4 separate regions of the Homo sapiens genome follow, and all the other regions are linked to region 4. The links are contacts of gene promoters, found by promoter capture Hi-C in blood cells and fetal thymus (Javierre and others, 2016). All regions are on one chromosome and are shown on one strand. The core of a region is centred on a gene start or on the middle of the fragment in contact, and the rest is flanking DNA. Distances in the headings are between cores, read along the strand shown. Region 1 has its middle 15 kb from the start of CNOT1. Region 2 overlaps LOC105371293 (a long non-coding RNA gene). Region 3 overlaps CNOT1 (CCR4-NOT transcription complex subunit 1). Region 4 holds the start of GINS3 (GINS complex subunit 3).

Evidence for each region. Contacts are between HindIII fragments. The CHiCAGO score rates a contact against its expected background, and 5 or more counts as called.
Region 1: a contact is called between a fragment that was not itself captured here and the fragment with the promoter of GINS3 in region 4, in 2 of 17 cell types (activated CD4 T cells and naive CD8 T cells). The highest score is 6.2, in activated CD4 T cells.
Region 2: a fragment that was not itself captured here is called in contact with the fragment with the promoter of GINS3 in region 4 in 2 of 17 cell types (naive CD4 T cells and non-activated CD4 T cells); the score reaches 5.4 in naive CD4 T cells.
Region 3: a contact is called between a fragment that was not itself captured here and the fragment with the promoter of GINS3 in region 4, in 10 of 17 cell types (non-activated CD4 T cells, naive CD4 T cells, activated CD4 T cells and 7 more). The highest score is 12.9, in non-activated CD4 T cells.

Annotation. Positions count from the first base shown.
Region 1 is chr16:58,643,236-58,646,376 of GRCh38, reverse strand. No RefSeq gene overlaps it. Among named protein-coding and RNA genes, the nearest start is that of CNOT1, 15 kb to the right of the region's middle. The HindIII fragment of the contact is 7,485 bases long and covers 1-3,141 here.
Region 2 is chr16:58,239,476-58,242,762 of GRCh38, reverse strand. The region is part of intron 3 of LOC105371293 (a long non-coding RNA gene); the gene reads left to right. Among named protein-coding and RNA genes, the nearest start is that of CFAP263, 8.8 kb to the left of the region's middle. The HindIII fragment of the contact is 4,235 bases long and covers 1-3,287 here.
Region 3 is chr16:58,622,940-58,626,089 of GRCh38, reverse strand. The region is part of intron 1 of CNOT1 (CCR4-NOT transcription complex subunit 1); the gene reads left to right. Among named protein-coding and RNA genes, the nearest start is that of CNOT1, 5.3 kb to the left of the region's middle. The HindIII fragment of the contact is 4,558 bases long and covers 1-3,150 here.
Region 4 is chr16:58,390,873-58,393,913 of GRCh38, reverse strand. It overlaps GINS3 (GINS complex subunit 3), which reads right to left and starts at 1,443. Exons shown (of 3, transcript NM_022770.4): 1 at 1,127-1,443. The coding sequence starts at 1,312. RefSeq lists enhancers at 650-1,226, 1,131-1,620, 1,227-1,804. The HindIII fragment of the contact is 2,062 bases long and covers 614-2,675 here.

The DNA of each region.
Region 1 (3,141 bases), core at 271-2,770, 250 kb before region 4:
GGTGTGGTGGTGCACACCTGTAGTCCCAGCTACTCAGGAGGCTGAAGGGGAGGATTACCTGAGCCTGGGGAGGTGAAGGCTGCAGTGAGCAGTGATCATGCCGCTGCACTCCAGCCTGGGTGACAGAATGAGACCCACCTCAAGTTGGGGATGGACAGTAAGAAAGAGGCTCTTGTGGCAGGTGGGGGCCTTGTAAGCCATGCAAAGACTCTATAGGGAGCCATTAGAAGGATTTTAGCAGGAGGATAGTTTATGGAGGAGCAGGGCAGAGTACAGAGATGGAGACCAGTCAGGGCCTGCTGTGGTCCAGGCAGAGATGACAGCAACACATGGACTAGAGAATGAGAACATGGGAGACAGAGATCAATGGGAAGAGTGGGGATATATTCAGAGGATAGTGATCAATCTCTGACCTTGATCCTCATTCCCCTCTACTGCAATCTGAAAGGTGTCAGCTGCTCTGAGGTTCTGAGTATGGCTCTGTGTTAACCCTGCAGGAGGCAATATAGCCAAATGGCTACAAGTGTTAGGTCTGGACATCACACCAACCTGGGTTTGAATCCTGGCACTGCCTCTGACTGACTGTGGCCTTGAGCAAGCTCTTTACCATCCGTTTACCTCAATTTCCTTGTCTGCAAAATGGGATTGACAGGCCAGGCATGGTGGTTCATGCTTGTAATCCCAGCACTTTGGGAGGCTGAGGCAGGTGGATCACCTGAGTCCAGGAGTTTGAGACCAGCCTGGCCAACATGGTGAAACCCTGTCTCTACTAAAAATACAAAAATTAGCCAGTCATGGTGATGCATGTCTGTAATCCCAGCTACTTGGGATGCTGAGGCAGGAGACTCGCTTAAACCTGGGAGGCGGAGGTTGCAGTGAACCGAGATCGTGCCACTGCACTCCAGCCTAGGCAATGGAGTGAGGCTCTGTCTCAAAAAAAAAAAAAAAAATGGTAATGCACAGAGTAGTACCTGCTTCACAGGGTTACAGTAAATAAAGAAGACAATTAAAATAAAGGACTCAAGGTAGAGTGTGGCACACAGCGAGCACTCAGTCAAGGTGAGTCATTATCACTGTCATGATCAAGTAGAGGCATTTACTTGTCCCTCCTGGTTTTAAGCCAATGACACTGATGGAATTTGGTTACAATGGCCTCGTTGGCAAAGAATAAGTTCTGTCTCCTTCCAGTCCTTATCTTTGGCACCTTGTGGTACATCTACCTGTAAGGCAGGTGGCTCTCTGCCATCCTTAAGTCAGAGACAGGTGATGCCGCCATGCAGGCCAATTTAGAAATGGCAGGAAATGGGGTGACTTCCATGGGAATGGAGGTGGGTCCAGTGGCCCCCTGCTGTCACTGTCTGACTTTCCAGACTTTTGTCCATAGCCTCTGGCCATTCCTCACATCTACTGCTGCTCTGAGGGCACCTGCAACTTCAGCAACACAGAGAACCACTGCCTGAGAGCGGTGAGTCACCCCCTCTCCTCAGAGTCACAGGAAGGTTAGAATGAGGGAGTCTCGGCCGAGAGCAGTGGCTCACACCTGTAATCTCAGCACTTTGGGGGACTGAGGCGGGCGGGTCACCTGAGGTCAGGAGTTCAAGACCAGCCTGGCCAACATGGAGAAACCCCATCTCTACTAAAAATACAAAATTAGCCAGGTGTGGTGGTGTATGCTTGTAATTCCAGCTTCTCAGGAGGCTAAGGCGGGTGAATTGCTTGAACCCGTGAGGCGGAGGTTGCGGTAAGCCAAGATCGTGCCATTGCACTCTAGCCTGGGCAACAAGAGTGAAACTCCATCTCAAAAATATTAAAATGAGACAGGGTCTCCGCTATGTTGCCCAGGCTGGTCTGGAACTGCTGGGCTCAAGCAATCCTCCCACTTTGGCCTCCCAAAGTGCTGGGACTACAGGCATGAGCTATTGCACTTGGCCAGGGTGTCTCTTTCTTGCTCAGGTGTCAGAAGAGCAAAAGAAAAAGAGGAGCTCAGAACCCCAGTGCATAGTGCTGTACACACACACACACACACACGCACACATGCACACACACACACACATGCACACACACACAAATACACACACACTCTTCCAATTCATAGTTTACAAAGCATGACATTTCCTCCTTTGCACCATACAGCAACACTGTGAAGCAGGCAGATTGGTTGGGCCCACAGTGTTGTTTTAAAAAATCATGTTCCAGCCGGGCGTGGTGGCTGATGCCTGTAATCCCAGCACTTTGGGAGTCCGAGGCAGGCAGATCACGAAGTCAGGAGATCGAGACCATCCTGGCTAACACAGTGAAACCCTGTCTCTACTAAAAATACAAAAAAAAATTAGCCGGGCATGGTGGCGGGCGTCTGTAGTCCCAGCTGCTCGGGAGGCTGATGCACGAGAATGGCATGAACCTGGGAGGCAGAGCTTGCAGTGAGCTAAGATCATGCCACTGCACTCCAGCCTGGGTGACAGAGCAAGACTCCGTCTCAAAAAAAAAAAAAAGAACAAGAACAAAAAAAAAATCATGTTCCTAGGCCAGGCCCAGTGGCTCACGCCTGTAATCCCAGCACTTTGTGAGGCCAAGGCAGGCGAATCACCTGAGGTCAAGAGTTCAAAACCAGCCTGGACAACATGGTGAAACCCTGTCTCTACTAAAATTACAAAATTAGCCGTGCGTGATGGCACACACCTGTAATCCCAGCTACTCGGGAGACTGAGGCAGGACAATTGCTTGAACCCAGGAGGTGGAGGTTGTGGTGAGCCAAGATTTCACAATTGCACTCCAGCCTGGACAACAAGAGTGAAACTCTGTCTCAAAAAAAAAAGTTTTATATTTCTGGGCTGGGCATGGTGGTTCATGCCTGTAACACCAGCACTTTGGGAGGCCAAGGCGGGTGGATCACCTGAGGTCAGGAGTTTGAGACCAGCCTGGCCAACATGTTGCAACCCCGTCTCTACTAATAATACAAAAATTAGTTGGGCGTGGTGGCATGTGCCTGTAATCCCAGCTACTCAGGAGGCTAAGGCAGGTTAATTGCTTGAACCAGGGATGCAGAGGTTACAGTGAGCCGAGATCACGCCATTGCACTCCAGCCTGGATGACAATAACAAAAATCCATAAAAAAAAAATTGTATTACTGGCCAGGCATGG
Region 2 (3,287 bases), core at 735-3,234, 150 kb after region 4:
AGTGGATAAGTAAATATATTTCTCTCATTATTTAATTTTCTTTGAAAGATAAATAACTTTATATAACAAAAATTATGTATTGTAGAGTTTACAACATTTACATTGTAGCTAAGCACGGTGGCTCATGCCTGTAATCCCAGCACTTTGGGAGGCAGAGGCCAGTGGATCACTTGAGGTCAGGAGTTTGAGATCAGCCTGACCAACATGGTGAAACCTTGTCTCTACTAAAAAAAATATGAAATTAGCCGGGCGTGGTGGCACATACCTGTAATCTCAGCTACTTGGGAGTCTGAGGCAGGAGAATTGCTTGAACCCAGGAGGCAGAGGTTGCAGTGAGCCCAGATCGGGCCATTGCATTCCAGCCAGGGTGACAAGAGCAAAAAACTCCATCTCAAAAGAAAGAAAGAAAGAAAAAAAAAACATTTACATTGTAGAGTTTATAAGTGAAATGTATGACAATGATAGTAGAGGAGAAATGGGAGTGTGATGGTATAAAGTTCTTATACTATACATAAAGTGGTATAATAACACTTGAAGATAGACTGTACTAAGTTAAAGAAATGTACCATAAACCCCAAAGCAATGACAAAAATGACACAGCAAAGACATAAAACTAAAAGAGTAGCTTTAACTCTAGACTGAATGTCTAGACAATGTGGTAGACAGAACAATGGCCCGCAAAGATATCCAGGTTCTAATCATTGGAACCTATGAATATTACCTTGTAAAGGGGGAAAAGGTCTTAACAATTTTAGCGATTAAGTTAAAGGTCTTAAAATGGAGTGGTTATCCTGGATTATGTAAGTGGGCCCTAAAAGCAATCACAAGTGTCCTTACAAGAGGGAGGCAGAAGGAGATTCTACTACAGAAGAGAGAAAGCAATGTGACAACCTCAGCAGAGAGAGACTTGAAGATGCTATGCTGTGGACTTTGAAGATGGAGGAGAGGGCCTAGGAGCCAAGGAATGCAAGGAATGAAGCTCTAAAAACTGGAGAATTCTCCCCTTAAGCCTCTAGAGAAAATACAGCCCTGCTGAGTGAGACCCATTTTGGACTTCTGGCCTCTGGAACTATAAGAGAATAAATTTGTGTTGTTTTAAGCCACAAAGTTTGTGGCAATATATCACAATAGCCTATGAAACTAATACAGCTAAGTCAACAAAGGAGATAAAGTGGAATTATAAAATATTCGAATGGATCCAAAAGAAGGCAGAAAAAGGGAAATATAAACAAAAAGAACAAATAGAAGCAAGGCAATAAAGAAAAAATAGATAAGTTGGACTTATTAAAAACTTTTGTGCTTCATAGAACACCATCAAGAAAGTGAAAAGACAATCCACAGAATGAGAGAAAAATTGCAAATCATATATATGATGAGAGATTTATATCCAGGATACATAAAGAACTATTATTACAACTCAATAATTAAAAGATAAGCAAATAGGCCAGGCTCAGTGGCTCATGCCGGTAATCCCAGCACTTTGGGAGGCTGAGGCGGGCAGATCACTTGAGGTCAGGAGTTCAAAACCAGCCTAGCCAACATGGTGAAACCCTGTCTCTACTAAAAACACAAAATTTAGCCAGGTGTGGTGGCGGACATCACTTGAACCCGGGAGGCGGAAGTTGCAGTGAGCCGAGATCACGCCATTGCATTCCAGCCTGGCAACAAGAGCGAAACTCCGTCTCAAAAAAGTAATAAATAAATAAGCAAATGATTTGAATGGACATTTATCCAAAAAAGATATACAAGTGATCAATAAGCACATGAAAAGATGCCCAACATCATTAGTCATCATGGAAGCATAATATATAATAGAACATATAATATATAATTAAAAAGACAGATAAAAACAAGTATCAGTAAGAATGTGGAGAAATTGGAACCCCCATAAACTGCTGGTGGGAATGGAAAATGGTGCAGCTCCTTCAGAAAACAAAGTTTGGTTGTTACTAAAAGGCTAAACATAGAGTTACCATGTGATCCACCAATTCTACTCCTAGTATATACTCAAAAGAAATTAAAACACATATCCATGCATGAACTTGTACATGAATGTGCACAGTGGTATTATTTAAACTAACCAAAAAGACACAAATGCCTATCAACTGATGAGCAGATGAACAAATGTTGTATCTATAAAATGTAATATTATTTGGCAATAAAAAACGAATGAAGTATGGATACATACAACAAGGACAAAGCATGAAAACATTACGATAAGTAAAAAGAAAGAAAATCACAAAGGACCACATATTGTATGATTTTATGTATATGAAATGTCAAAAATAAGCAGATACATGGAGACAAGAAATAGATTAGTGGTTGTTTATGGCCGGGATAGGGAAAATGAGGGATAAGTGATGAATAAGGCATGTGGAGTTTCTTCTGGGGTAAGAAAAACGTTCTACAATTGACTGGGGTGATAGATGCACAACTTTTGAATATAGTAACAGTCACTGAATTTACTCTTTAAGTGGGTGAATTGTTAAGTATGTGAATTATATATCAATAAAGCTGTTTTTAAAAAAGAATAAGTAGAAAATATCAAGATGGTAGATTAAAATCCAACCATATCAATAATTACACCAAAGGGAATTGGTCTAAACATTCTGATTAAAAGGCAAAGGTTATCTGATTGAATAAAAAAGCAAAACCTAAATACATGCTGCCTATAAAAAATACACTTTAAATATAAAGACACAAGTGGGTTAAAAGTAAAAGGGAAAAAGATGCAAACACTAGTCAAACAATAATACAAACACCAAAGAAAGGTGAAGTAATTATGTTAATATCAGACATAGTAGATTTCAGAGCAAAGGATATTACCTGTAATAAACAGGGTCAGTTTATAATAATAAAGGGATGAATTCATAAAGACATGATATTTATGCATCCAATAAGACAGCTTCAAAATCCATGAAGCAAAAACCAATAGAACTGCAAGAAGAAACAGACAGACGAATTCACAATTAAAGACTTCAAAGATATCAACACCAATCTCTCAAAAATTGATAGGCTAAATGGACATAAAAATAAGTAAGGAAATAGAAGATTTGAGCAGCTTTATTAACTGAAGTGTCCTAACGGACATTTCTGAAACACTCCACCCAACAACAGCAGAACTCACATTCTTTCCAAGTGCACACAGAACATTACTAAGAAGACCATATTCGTTAAACAATAAATTTCAATACATTTAAAAGTATTTGCCATACAAAGTTATGTTCTCTCACCACAATAGAATTAAATTAGAAATGAAACAGAAAGACATTTGGAAAAACCTCTAA
Region 3 (3,150 bases), core at 1-2,500, 230 kb before region 4:
TCAAGTCATATATATTAACTGAGGCATTTCTTTAATGACCCTCTGACCAAACTAAAACTTCCTGCTGTGAAGTTTCAAAATGGCATCCCATTGAGTGACTCTATATATAGAAGAATCTAGCAATTCCTTTTCTGTTTGCTCACAATTTTAAAGATGAATCTTTGAAAGTTAAAAGGGGCTCAACACCTTCTGCCCCCCAGTGTATACAATAGTTTTTTTTTTTTTTTTTTTTGAGACAGGGTTTCACTTCAATGCCTAGGCTGGAGTGCAGCGGCACAATCCCTGCTCACTGCAGCCTTGATATTCTGGTCTCAGGTCAGTCTCTCACCTCAGCCCCTGAGTAGCTGGGACTACAGGTGCATGCTAACCACACGTGTCAAAAATTGTTTTTTTTCTTTTTTTTTTGAGAGAGAGTTTTGCTCTTCTCCCTCAGGCTGGAGTGCAGTGGTATGATCTTGGCTTGCTGCAACTTCTGCCTCCCGGGTTCAAGTGATTCTCCTGCCTCAGCTTCCCAAGTAGCTGGGATTACAGGTGCGCGCCATCATGCCTGGCTAATTTTATATATATATGTTTTTTTAAAACAGGGTTTTGCTCTTGTTGCCCAGGCTGGAGTGCAATAGTGTGATCTCTGCTCAGTGCAACCTCCGGCTCCTGGGTTCAAGTGATTCTCCTGCCTCAGCCTCCTGAATAGCTGGGATTACAGGCGCACGCCGCCATGCCCGGCTAATTTTTTGTATTTAGTAGAGACAGGGTTTCACCACGTTAGTCAGGCTGGTCTCGAACTCCTGACCTCAGGTGATCCACCTGCCTCGGCCTCCCAAAGTGCTGTGATTACAGGCGTGAGCCACTGCCCAGGCCTGTATTTTTAGTAGAGATGGGGTTTTACCATGTTGGCCATCTGGTCTTGAACTCCTGACCTCAAGTGATCTACCTGCCTCAGCTTCCCAAAGTTCTGGGATTACAGGTGTGAGCCACTGCGCCTGGCCTAATTTTTGTATTTTTTTGGTAGAGGTGAGGTTTCACTGTGTTTCCCAGGCTGGTCTGGAACTCCTGGGCTCAAGCGATCTGTCCACCAAGACCTCCCAGAGTGCCGTGATTACAGATGTGAGCCACCATACTGGCCTATGATACTTTTTTTTTTTAAGTGTACTTTTCACTCAAATTTGCAAGAATGTAGCAAACCAAATAAAGCATTGTTCACTGGAAAGCGTAGTTTGAGAAGGCAGTAATTAGAGGTGTAGACTTAATATGAAGCCATTTGTTGAGTTTTTTCGTTTGTTTGTTTGTTTTTTAAGATGGAGTCTTGCTCTGTTGCCCAGGCTTGAGAGCAGTGGTGTGATCTCGGCTCACTGCAACGTCCGCCTCCCAGGTTCAAGTGATTCTCCTCCCTCAGCCTCCCGAGTAGCTGGGATTACAGGCGCGTGCCACCACGGCTGGGTAATTTTTGTCTTTTTAGTAGAGATCTGGTTCACCATGTTGGTCAGGCTGGTCTCGAACTCCTGACCTTGTGATCCACTCATCTCAGCCTCCCAAAGTGCTGGGATTATAGGCGTAAGCCGTCGCACCCACAGTGATTTAAAGGAATGTAGTGTATATATTTGAGAAATGCATTTATATCTTTAATTCTGGAAAACACAGCATTAACTAACCTCCAGCATACCTGTTGCTTAACTGTGTTACAGTTGTTACAGGGAAATTCCTGAAATGTTGAATACGTTGCAACCATGTAGGATAATTTTTTGTTGATTCTGAGAACATAAACTTTCTTCCAGTATATTCTCACACCACCAGATGTGTGGGGTTTTCCCCTGCGCATCAAGCAAGCTATTCAGCAGTGGACACCACATGGGTATCCTCTAATTCAGTATTATTCTGACACGGTGTACCTGAAGATAGCATCAGATCCCACAGGTTGAAAGCTCAAGTCCCATAGACAGTCCCCCACTTCCAATGCTAATCTCAAGTCCCAGGTGGTTTTACCTGTGTTTCTGACCAACTGACTATAAATTGAGTTCCTAATACCCCCTTCTTTTGTTCAGTTAACTTGCTAGAGTGGCTTATGTAGAACTCTCGGAAATACTTAGGGTTTTTTTTTTTTGGAGCCGGAGTCTTGGCTCTGTCACCCAGGCTGGAGTGCAGTGGCACGATCTAGGCTTGCTGCAACCTCTATCGCTCTGGTTCAAGCGATTCTTCTGCCTCGGCCTCCCAAGTAGCTGGGATTATAGGCATGCGCCACCACACCTGGCTAATTTTTTATATTTTTGGTAGAGATGGGGTTTCATCATGTTGGTCAGGCTGGTCTCGAATTCTTGACTTCAAGCGATCGACCCACCTCAGCCTCCCAAAGTGCTGGGATTACAGACAGGCATGAGCCACTGTACCCGGCCAACACTTAGGTTCAAGAGTTTATTATAAAGGATATGGATGAGGAGGTGCGTAGGAGAAGTAAGGGCCGCGGAGCTTCCATGCCCTCCCCTGGCTACACTGTGCCTCAGCTATCTGGAAGCTCTCTGAACCCAGTCATTTATGGGCTTTTATGGAGGCTTCATTACAGAGGCACAGTTGGTTAAATCATTGACCTTTGGTGGTCACCTTAACCCTTAGCACCTTTTCCCTCCCTGGAGTTTGGAGGAGGTGGGGCTAAAAGTCCTAATCCTCTCATCTTGCCTTGATCTTTCAGGTGACCAGCACCCATGCAGAAACTACCTAGAAGTTGCCAAGCTATCAGTCAACTCAGCATACAAAAAGAAACTTACCATTCTAAGGATCTTAGAAGTTGTATGCCAGGAAATGGGATGAAGACCAAATGTATATCTCACAATAAATATTACAGTAATGTTGAAGTAATTATTTGAAATATAAAAGTGGGATGGAAGTATTTTCTTTTCTTTTTTTTTTTGGAGGCAGAGTCTCGCTGTATCCCCCAGGCTGGAGCGCGATATCGGCTCACTGCAACCTCTCCTTCCTGGGTTCAAGCGATTCTCCTGCCTCAGCCTCCTGAGTAGCTGGGATTACAGGCGCCTGCCACCACGCTTGGCTAATTTTTGTATTTTTAGTAGAGACGGGGTTTTGCCATATTGGTCAGGCTGGTCTCGAACTCCTGACCTCAGGTGATCTGCCTGCCTTGGCCTCCCTAAGTGCTGGGATTTC
Region 4 (3,041 bases), core at 194-2,693:
GGAAGTGGGAAAAGGAAGGCAGGACCTGCTATTTTTTTTCTTATAAATCTTTTGGTACTATTTGACTTTTTTTTTTTTTTTTTTTGAGATGGAGTCTCACTCTGTCGCCAGGCTGGAGTGCAGTGGCACAGTCTCGGCTCACTGCAACCTCTGCCTCCTGGGTTCAAGAAATTCTCCTGCCTCAGCCTCCAGAGTAGCTGAGATTACAGGCGCCGGCCACCACACCCAGCTTTCTAGTAGAGATGGGGTTTCACCATGTTGGCCAGGATGGTCTGGATCTCTTGACCTCGTGATCCGCCCGCCTCAGCCTCCCAAAGTGCTGGGATTACAGGCGTGAGCCACCGCATCCGGCCTATTTGACTTTTAAAACGTTGGTTATGTATTACTTTGATAAAAATTAACTTGAAACAAACAGACCAAACAATAAACATCGTTCTATACAAAACTTAGGTGAAACAGGATATCCAAATTAATCATTACAAGCCATGTTCCTGGGACAATTTTATATTTGAAGCCATATGGCCTTGGGTTCCGAATCCCAGCTCACCACTAACTGAAGCCCTGGCCAAGTGACCCAGCCTTTCTGGTTGCTGAAGGATTAAAGGGAAAAGCTTACTCCCCACACCCAACCATGCTGCCACTAAGTAAGCCTCAGTAGGGCTTACTGATCCTGTCATCATTATGGAGGAATGAATTTAGCAACTTGGGGTTCCTACTTATCACATGCTCTTACAGAACCCAAAGCTGTTTTAAGGCAAACATGATCAGAACTCTAATTCTTAAGTATTCAGCTGGAGCCAATCTTTAAGCATTCAACACACGTTGCATGGGGTAGGGGGAAGACACTAATTTGGACAGTTTCAAAAAAGAAATCAATGTTGGAGGCTGCCTGGCGACCTAGGATAAATGTAGTTTCACCACAGATGGCGAACAAGAAGTCTGGAGACCACCCCGAGCGCGAAGGGACCCCCGCGGAGTTTCCGAGAAGTCGTTAGCGCCTTCGGCCCTGGCTCCTCGAAAACTACAAATCCCAAAGGGCAGCGCGCCCCGATGCGGCGTCCCAGGGCCGAGGGGCCCGCCGGGAGCTGCAGTCTTTCCGGGCAGGACCCCGCACCCAAAGGCTCACCTGTGGGACCGCGTTGTCAGTCTCGGCGCCTGCGCTCCGCTCCAGGAAGAAAGCGCCAAGGCGAGGCATGGCGGTCTCCGTGCGCACCGGCAGCTTCTCGTGGGACATCAGGATGTCGTCCAAAGAAAGAAAGTTCTCCTCAGGCCCCAGCGCACCCGACTCCACTCGGAAATAAGCCTCTGACATGGCGGCCACTTGAGCTTCTCCGCTTCCACTCGCGTGATTCGGAGGAGCCTCAGGAGTTAGGGGTGTACAAGACGGGGAAGCGGAGACTGGGCAGGATGGTTGGGGTCAGGAAAGTGGATTGAAACTCGTTTCCCGCGCCCGGGGACGCATCAGACAGGAGCAGTCAATTCGGGCGGTACCGCCCAGGCAGAAGCAATCGATCAAGTCTGCAGATTTAGAGCAGCGGGACACGGCTGGGGAGCGGTAGGTGGGGGCGCCGGAAGTTCTCTTCCCTCCGCTTGCTGCACGGTGTGGGAACGTTACGAAGAAGCTGGAACGCTCGTTGAAGCTCCTGGACCCATTTGTACTGGATTGTGTTCATGTGATCCTTAACTATTTATATGAAATTAAAAACACTTTGCAACACTTTTAGGGGTTTAAAATAAAAGCATCTTGTGCCCTTCACTCCAGGCCTAAGTCCGACCCTTTCCTACAGTTTTTTTCACTATGCAACTCCGTTAATCTTAGTATTTGAAAGAAATGTTAAACAAACAAAAACTTCCAGCACTATCCCCAGCGAGTTATTATGGTCTAGATGATGAACTAGTGTGTTGTATTTTGTTAGTATTTTGGTGGGGGTTGGACGGGGTGGGTAGAGGGGTGGAGCACTAGACTGCACATGGCTTGCTAAGGTTGTGAGTATACTTCAGGGTGTCTTAGCTCATCATCAACTGACAATCTCCTTTTGTGGCTCTGAATTTAAATCCCTAAAAATGGAAATCCAATTGGTCCAGTTTATTGATTGGTCCAGGTACGCCACAATGGTCATAGATCTCCAGCCACCCTGTAGATGGGGGTGCCTGTGTTGGGTGCGATCACTATCCAGTGACCAGGGGAAGGACCATGGTCGCATAGTACCAGGTTTGGTGGCTCTCCTCAGCCAGGGCTATGGGTGGCGGCATATTGTTGAGAGATGCACTACAGAACTTACTTCGTCTAGAGCATTTCTGGGGCTACTGGAGCCGGGAGTAAAGGGTGTGTGTGAAGGGAGGTGTGTATTAACCATGGATTTTAGTTTCTGTTTTCTGTATTTTATGATGCTTTGACATCTTGGGGCCTTGGGGACCTGGGGAGGAATTGCCCCTTTCAGAGTTAGCTAATTCCTAGAGATAGCAAACAACTTGCTTGTGAACACCCCTTTCATTTACAAACCAACCAACCCAAGCCTATATCCCCACACCATCTTTATCCATCTCACACACCAATATTTTCCCTGCCCCAAGTCACTGTAATAAACCACCCCATGGCCAAGTACCAGACAACTAAAATTCACCTCTATATCCCAGAGCTTGCCAACATTATTCAAATTATTCAATCCTAAGCTTGTTCAGACTTCCCTTCCCTGCTTCGCCCATTCCTTCCCACGGCAATAAAGGCTCTGGGCTTTCTCCTCGCTCTCTCTACCTCCTCATTGACCCTAATACTTTCTCGTGTGGCCGTAGGCACAGCCCCTTCTCTTGAGAACTATAATAAAATTTTCAAAGGCATTGGCCACTAACTCATTGATTGTCATCACCCAGTCACCTTTATAAATGAAATTCTGAGGACAATGAAAACAAGGTGCAGTGGGGTGGAAAGGAATGGCCAAACTGTGGAAAATCTTGGTACCATTCTAAGGAGTTAGGCCATTCCATAGAAAATGGGAGGAAAATGTAAGGCAAATAATAACATAAATCTGGGCTTCAGGAAG